Regions from separate parts of the Homo sapiens genome. Here region 1 is linked to region 2. Evidence: promoter capture Hi-C in 16 types of primary human blood cells and fetal thymus (Javierre and others, 2016). All regions are on one chromosome and are shown on one strand. Each heading gives the region's core, a stretch centred on a gene start or on the middle of the fragment in contact. The rest is flanking DNA. Distances are from core to core; before and after follow the strand shown.

What was found. Contacts are between HindIII fragments. The CHiCAGO score rates a contact against its expected background, and 5 or more counts as called.
Region 1: a fragment that was not itself captured here is called in contact with the fragment with the promoter of PLA2G4A in region 2 in 1 of 17 cell types (monocytes); the score reaches 5.3 in monocytes.

The regions. Positions count from the first base shown.
Region 1 is chr1:186,779,536-186,783,551 of GRCh38, reverse strand. No RefSeq gene overlaps it. Among named protein-coding and RNA genes, the nearest start is that of PLA2G4A, 47 kb to the left of the region's middle. The HindIII fragment of the contact is 1,387 bases long and covers 1,979-3,365 here.
Region 2 is chr1:186,826,843-186,830,465 of GRCh38, reverse strand. It overlaps PLA2G4A (phospholipase A2 group IVA), which reads right to left and starts at 1,517. Exons shown (of 18, transcript NM_024420.3): 1 at 1,431-1,517. The HindIII fragment of the contact is 13,801 bases long and covers 1-3,623 here.

The sequences.
Region 1 (4,016 bases), core at 1,423-3,922, 48 kb after region 2:
GATTTTAACCAAATGACTTCTAAGATTCCTTTCTAGCTCCTAAACGCAGAGCCTCACCACAGCTACTTTCTGCACTGAAGATGCAGCCTGTTTCTAGCACTGTATGTAGTTCCTAAGATTCCTCAAGATAGAGGTCTTACCCACAGCATCTAGAAAGCAAGACAGGGCAAGATGCAGCCTGGCAGTTCAGAGTTCTGGCTGCAACCAGTCTTAAGCAAAACATAGCTGACAACCGATCCAAGTTAGGAACCGCATTTATTAGTATGGGCTCCTTTTTTGTGCAAAAGATTTTTTCACTGCATAACCCTATCCTATTTTTGGGTATGCATTCTGTTGAAATTATCTTATGAGATTGTAATGTAAATAACATAATTTTTAATTTGTACTGCCGTTATGAGATATATATTACAGTAAATTTTCCATTCTAAAACCCAGTAAGAAGCTTAAAAAAAGCACGTATTGTGGACTTACGGTGAGCACATGCACATACACTGAATCATAGACATTGTATCAGGATGTGGCAATGGATCAGCCAGTCCACACCTCTCCCATGTCAAGGGAACCCACTCATGCTCACACACCAGAGCACTTCCAGATGACTGGCAGTACAAGAAGCCTTCTCCCAGAATCTCTACCTGTGACTTGTTGTGGGGGCCTGCCTCTCACTGCAGAGAAGGCAAAGCAGGAAGAAATCACACAAAACAGCAAGGGCTGTAAGGAGAGCATCCCTTCTTCCGAGTCAGCAGCAGGTCCAAAGAGTGTTTTAAAAGTGCCCAGGACATAGTGAGAGTACAATCAACTCCCTACACAGAGTATCATTGTATTGGTTCTCCTAAGACGGAATCTTTCCATCCTCTTTTCCAAATATGCTGCCCAAATAGTTCCCCTAAATATTTTTAGTTCCAGTTTCATTGTACTCTAATAATAATGTAATATTCAACCACTATATTTTCTATTTATATTGAATAATGTAATGAATGCTTTTCAAGTAAGAAGATCTTGTGGATGGAGTCTGTATCAGGCCCTGTATTACACGAATGAGCAAAATTGTGTCTTTTCCTCATTCTTAAGTTTGGCTTAGCTATTGCTACGTGTGATAAACAAATCGATGACATGTTTGGCTGCTTAAGTTTACAAATTCATGTAATAAACTCTCATAGGACAGAAAAAGACTGCAAATTACATAGTCTATTCTGATGTTTTTTAAGATGTAAAGATTAGATAACTCATATCTTGACATGTAGCCAGGTACACTGTGGATAATTATAGTAAGATGCAGCACTCTTTGAATGGCCGAAAGCTGTAATTCTCCCCATGTACTAGAGTGAGGCAAGTAGGAAGTCTACCTGGGAGGTAAAAAAACAAAACAAAAAAAAACTAAAATAGATGGCAAAAGAAAAATAGGAGATAGTTCAAAGGTAAGCAGTAAAAAGACAGAATCGACTGTGGAAGAAACGGCTGTTATTACCAAGTCTGACATAGCACACAGAACTAGATACCTACAGGATGAGGTGTAACTTGGAAGTTCAGCAAGGAAGACTGATGCACTATATTTGTTTTGTCAGATTCAGGCAGAGGGAACTGGGAGGACCCAGAGAGGGAAACTGGGAGGACCAAAGGAAGTTCTCAGCCAAAGTGACTTCAGCACTTGGAAGTTGCCAGAATTTGGAAATGCAGTGGGGCTGGATCACAGCAGAAGACTATTACAGAGAATGGGAACAAGGGCAAGAGTAACGCCAGCAGAAAGCGATAGATGAGTAGGCTATTTCTTTTGTCCCTTTTACTGACAACGAGGATGAAATGAGGGTCTACGTAGTTTCAACTCCATGCAGAAGAGATCTGGCAAACTAGAAAACAAAGGGAGAAAAACTGAGGCACAGAAAGCTACAGAGCAAGTTACCAAGATAAATAAAGCAGCAAAAGAAATAACCTGTGCCCAGACTCCATCTCTAATAATTTTTTTTAACATCACCAAGCTTTCACTTGATTTATAAATAAATTTTTTTACTTTGGAAGGTAACTATCTCTTTTATTATTCTAACTATCAAATTTGATGAAGATTTTTTTCTCCATATTTACTGTTTAAAAAGGCAACAGTTTGAGGATTGATTTTAGCTACATCTGGCCTGAAAAGCAACAATAATTCATTTAGAATAAAGTAAAATGAATTATACGTATCTTCCAATTTAATACTTTACAAGAGAAGTACAGTGCTTTTACACAATTCATTTGTGAACACAGAGAAGTATATTTGTTCAATTTTGGCTAGACTAGCAGTAAGCTACTTGCTCTTTATATGTTTTATTCTGCCAATTTATTCAAGAAAAACTTACCAAGAGCTTACTATAAGCTGGATGCTTGGGGTACAGCAGTGAGCAAAACAAAGATTCCTGCTGTCATGCAACTTTCATTTGAATAGGAAAAGATGGTCAATAACCATAGATATAACAAATATTTATTTAGTATGTAGAAGATGTAGGAGTGAAAAGGTGTGCTAACCTTTCCATGGCTGACACACCTATAACAAGAGACACCTTAACGAGAGAAAAGCAAAACAAATTTATTTAATCAAAATTTATGTGTCATGAGATCCTTTAGAATGAAGACCCAAGGATACTTTTTTTTTTTTTTGAGATGGAATTTTGCTCTTGTTGCCCAGGCTGGAGTGCAATGGCTCGATCTCGGCTCACTGCAACCTCTGCCTCCCGGGTTCAAGCCATTCTCCTGCCTCAGCCTCCCGAGTAGCTAGGATTACAGGCATGAGCCACCACACCTGGCTAATTTTGTATTTTTAGTAGAGACAGGGTTTCTCCATGTTGGTCAGGCTGGTCTCGAACTCCAGACCTCAGGTGATCTGCCCACCTCAGCCTCCCAAAGTGCTGGGATTACAGGCATGAGCCACCGTGCCCGGCCAAGGATACATTTTTATGTATTGGTTCAATGAAGAACAGAGGATCTTATAAAAATATGGACAAAAAAGGATATGGTCAAATACTAGTAGACTGAGTAGAGAAACCCAGCAAGGCTTGTCTGTTCAGATTCTTTTTGACCTATTTGTTGTAGCATCTCTTCCTCCCAGCTATGGGTAAGACCCCTTTGAAATGAGGTCTTATGACCTCCTATCTGACATGGTACATCAGTGAACTTTTTTATGGCCAATTTCTACACAGAAAGGTAGGGAAAGAGTACACAATAATTTCAGTTTTTATAGCTTGCTTTGGGGAAAAGAGGTTCTTGTTTCTACCCTGCCTTGGGGAAGAATAATTCTGGTTTCTATGACTCATGTTAGGGGAAAATGAGGGGCCAGAGACAGATGGTCAGGAAAAGATCAGATAGAGCTTTGTTCTGATGCTGTTTCTGAAGCTTTCAGATTGCCTTTAGTTAAAAGACCTCAACATGCCAAAATATGTCACTTTATCTTTGTTGGGGCTCAGAAAATGATATGCCAAAGTATATCACATCATTTTCTGAGCCCCAGCAAAGATAATTAGTGCTATAGGAAAAAAATTAGAACCGAATGGGGTAAGGGTGATCATGAGTGTGATGTGGGGGGTAGGTAATTTTTAAGAGAATCCCCAGAGTAATCTCAAGTAAACTCAATGATAAAAATTGAGCCAAGGTTTAAAAGAGGTAAGGGAGTTCGCCAGTAGACATCTAAGGTGGCAGGTGTGGTTTGTTCAAGGAACAGAAAGGAGGCCTGTGTGACTGGAGAGGAGGGAGCAAAGAAGAAGGAGAGAGGAAGAATAATAGAAAAGAAGATCTAATTTCAAAAGTAATTCACATGATGAAAATATAATTTACATTGACCTAAATCCCTGGAGGAATCTGTAAAAGCAATCATTGCACCTAAACAGACATGTGTTATGGAAAGCAATACTTCAGATCAACATAGCATTCGCTGAAATCTTAAATTTATGTGTTAAGTTGGAAAGCTATTTGGGAAAGGGGAAAGAGGAAGTTCATTCAATCATCATAAGTAGCTTAACAGAGCTGAAAATATTTTTGATCTGTCTACC
Region 2 (3,623 bases), core at 268-2,767:
CGGCTAGTTTTTCTATTTTTAGTAGAGATGGGGTTTCACCACGTTGGCCAGGCTGGTCTCGAACTCCTGCCCTCAAGTGATCCACCCGCCTCGGCCTCCCAAAGTGCTGGTATTACGGGCATGAGCCACTGCGCCCAGCCAGAATAACTTACTTTTTAAAAATATGTTAAAAAGATGCAATGTCTTATCTCAAAAAATATGCTTCCCCTAAGGGAAGTTTGTAAAACTCCTTTGAGCAAATGCACATTAAACACTTCTCTATGCATTTCACAATTATTGCTTAATTTAAAATTTAACTCTTCCGGAGCTAATGAAAGAAGTAAATACCTGTTTCTTATCCCAACCTCTAACTTGATTGGCAAGGTGTAGGAACCTGTAGAATGTAACTTTAAAATTCTTAACAGAGCTTGTTTCACTACAGTCCTCTACAAATATCCCTTGAGCCACAATTCTAAATTTAAACAACAAAGAGAAACAAAAATACAAATCTTCTTTGAACTCAAATTATATTGGCAAATATAACTTTAGAATTGACACCCATTCAGACAGTACGCCTCTAATACTCTCCATCTGCCTTAGCTGAATAAATGCTGACATCATCAACCCATATGAGGAGTATTTCTTGTTCTGGTTTTGGAGGTGAATTTATTTTTAAGACTAAAATGATTATAAATTGTAGGAGACAGATACATTCATCCACTGATACTTTAAAATCAAATACCTTTTTTTTCTGTTTTTTTTGGAAACAAAATTACTGAAATATCCACACTCAAAATTTAACTATGTAATTTGATCAAATCTTTTCTAGTATCTAGTTTTGAGATTTTTTTTTTCTCTTGGCAAGCCAAGTAACTTAGGGGAAGGGTGGATCATCAGAACACCAGTCCGTTTACAGTTAATTTTTCAATAATCCTCTTTCTTTCGCATAATTCTGCAAAATATTGACTAGCCAGGAAAGCGTCCCATAAGTAACAAAAATGACCAATTTTTAGAAATTAAAAGTTAAGTGAGTCAACAAAGTCTCTCGCTAAAGATCGCTAGGGCTGTCAAACAGCACAGCATGCTGCTGCTCAAGTTTGGGGATCAGTAACCATTGGGTGTCATCACGTGGAACGCTAATAAGCGCCACCTCACCGCCGTTTTGAATGCTAACTTTCTGGGATTCCAACCCAAAGAAACACCTTAATCTTTGACTCCACAGTGCATTTAGATCCAGGAAGGCAAATCTGCGTGGGTTTGAAGAAAATTGAGGTCCCTAATCTGTGTTTCACTTCAAAAGGCAGAGGACATGCTGACTTTTTAAAGCAGCGAGGTTTCCCCTCCGTCCTTTCTTCCTTCCAAGTAAACTACCAAGTAAAAGCTAAGGAGGGTGGGAGAGAGAAGTGGAGCAGAGGAAGAATAAATATATTGCTTACAGTTCCCAGAGTTACCTGAGAATCTTCAGGCTCCTCAATGCCTCTAGCTTTCAGTCAGGATCCTTTTTCAGCTCCGGACTTAGAGAAAGTCTTATCCTGAGTAGGAGGGGCTAAAATGTGGGCTGGTCTCCTTGCGCTTTTGCAGATGTTTTAAGGTGGAATTAAAGGGGAAGAGGGAGAACGCTCTCTTCTCATAGAAGCTAATATTGTAAATGTAAATGCTTAGTTATTAGAACCAGGAGTTTGAAGTCAGAAAATATGCTTAAATAATATGTAAATTAATCAGTCCTAAATTCCATGAGTGCTGTTGTGGATTTCTGTGTGTGTGATGTGTGTGTGTGTGTGTGTGTGTGTGCGTGCGCGCGTCTGAAATTGCTACTTGTCCTTAAGTAGTAACTACTTCCTCCTTTTTTCCAAAGGAGAACAAAATTGAAAAGACAGTGAATAACCTAGAGCATTTTTGCATTATTTAAAAAGGCAAAGTTTATAACAAACCCCAAATATAAAAATGTACATTTTTAAAAAATGAGTATCAGACCACTTTAAAAATCAAATCTGTTTAAATATTTCCACTCCAGACTCAGAACACCTGTGTTGATAATAATTTCTTTGTAAATTTAAGATTAAAGGCATACCAAATAATGTAATATATATGTTGAGATTTAGGGAAGAAAATGAAATCAGGTTGAATTCCAAATTTGCAGTGTAAATCCAAATACCTTATAGCACTGTAATGAAGAAGGTGCATTGTTTAAATGTACCCAAATTCCATGAGAATCAATTCATGTCTTTAAAGATTGACATGTTCATTTAGTATATCTTGTTTTTCAAACACAGGATCTTGTTTTTGCCTTTAATTAAATACTGAACTCACTCTCCTAACTCTCTTACAATATTTTCAAAGAATATAATTTCACTAAATCTTCTGGAATATCTGCTTTCTGTAGCCCAACATTCAACTCTTATTTGTTTTTATTTTTTTCCCCTAAATTCAACCTGGCATATTATAAATCTCTCTTTGAAAAAAAAAAAAGCCAGTAATGTCTTTTTTAGGAAGGATAGATTTATAATAAACATTTTTCGGGCTGGGCACGGTGGCTCACGCCTGTAATCCCAGCACTTTGGGAGGCCAAGGCGGGCGGATCACGAGGTCAGGAGATCGAGACTATCCTGGCTAACACGGTGAAACCCCCGTCTCTACTAAAAATACAAAAAATTAGCCGGGTGTGGTGGCGGGCGCCTGTAGTCCCAGCTACTTGGGAGGCTGAGGCAGGAGAATGGCGTGAACCCGGGAGGCAGAGCTTGCAGTGAGCCAAGATTGCGCCATTGCACTCCCGCCTGGGCCACAGAGCGAGACTCCGTCTCAAAAAAAAAAAAAAAAAAAAAAAAAAAAAAAAAAAAAAAAAAAAAAAAAAATTTCTCTTTCCAAAGAAATCCCTGAATTTCTAGAAAGGAGGTGTATGTTAATTAGAGGAGCAGAGAGCACACTGGTAGTTTTCATCTCTTTCCCCCAGACACAACTGGTGAAAGAAAGAATCTATACTGCAGGGCATGTTCGTTCTAAGACTCTGATAAAAAAGACTCCCTGGAAAAGCAGCTTCACAGTGCTTGCTTATAGAGCACAAAAAAAGTGCTCTAGTGCTTTTTTGATAACAAAAAGTTATAGCTCTCAATATTTCCAGATGATATCCAATAGTGTGTCATGCATTAAAGATAAAAAATTTATTTAAACGCTTTTAAAGAAAATGTCATTATATGTCATGGTTAGGGTTAATATATACGGGGAGAAGTTTGTCTCTTTCCCGCCTTACTAAATGAAGCTGATTTATCTCCACCTTTATAATGAATAAAGGCTGCTGCAGGTATGTCTTTTCCTCTCTGGAATCAGTGCAGACCAAATCCCATTTACCCATTTTGTGGTTCTATGGCCTCCTTATCTCATCTATTTTGGCTCACTACTTGTGATCTCACTGTTCACATAGACCCCTAGGTGGATAGTACAAGTTCAGATTTGCCGTCTTCACTTTGCCCAATTTCCTCCAAAAATATTTTCAGCATTGACCTACTGACTTCAAAAACCTCTGCTTCCACCTTAGGTAAGATAGGCCCTGACTTCCATAGCGTGCTTCAGTCTATAGGATCAATTATGTCTGAAGACCCCTCTCCACTTGGTTTGTCCATCAACAAAGATTAGTCATCTGGGACCCA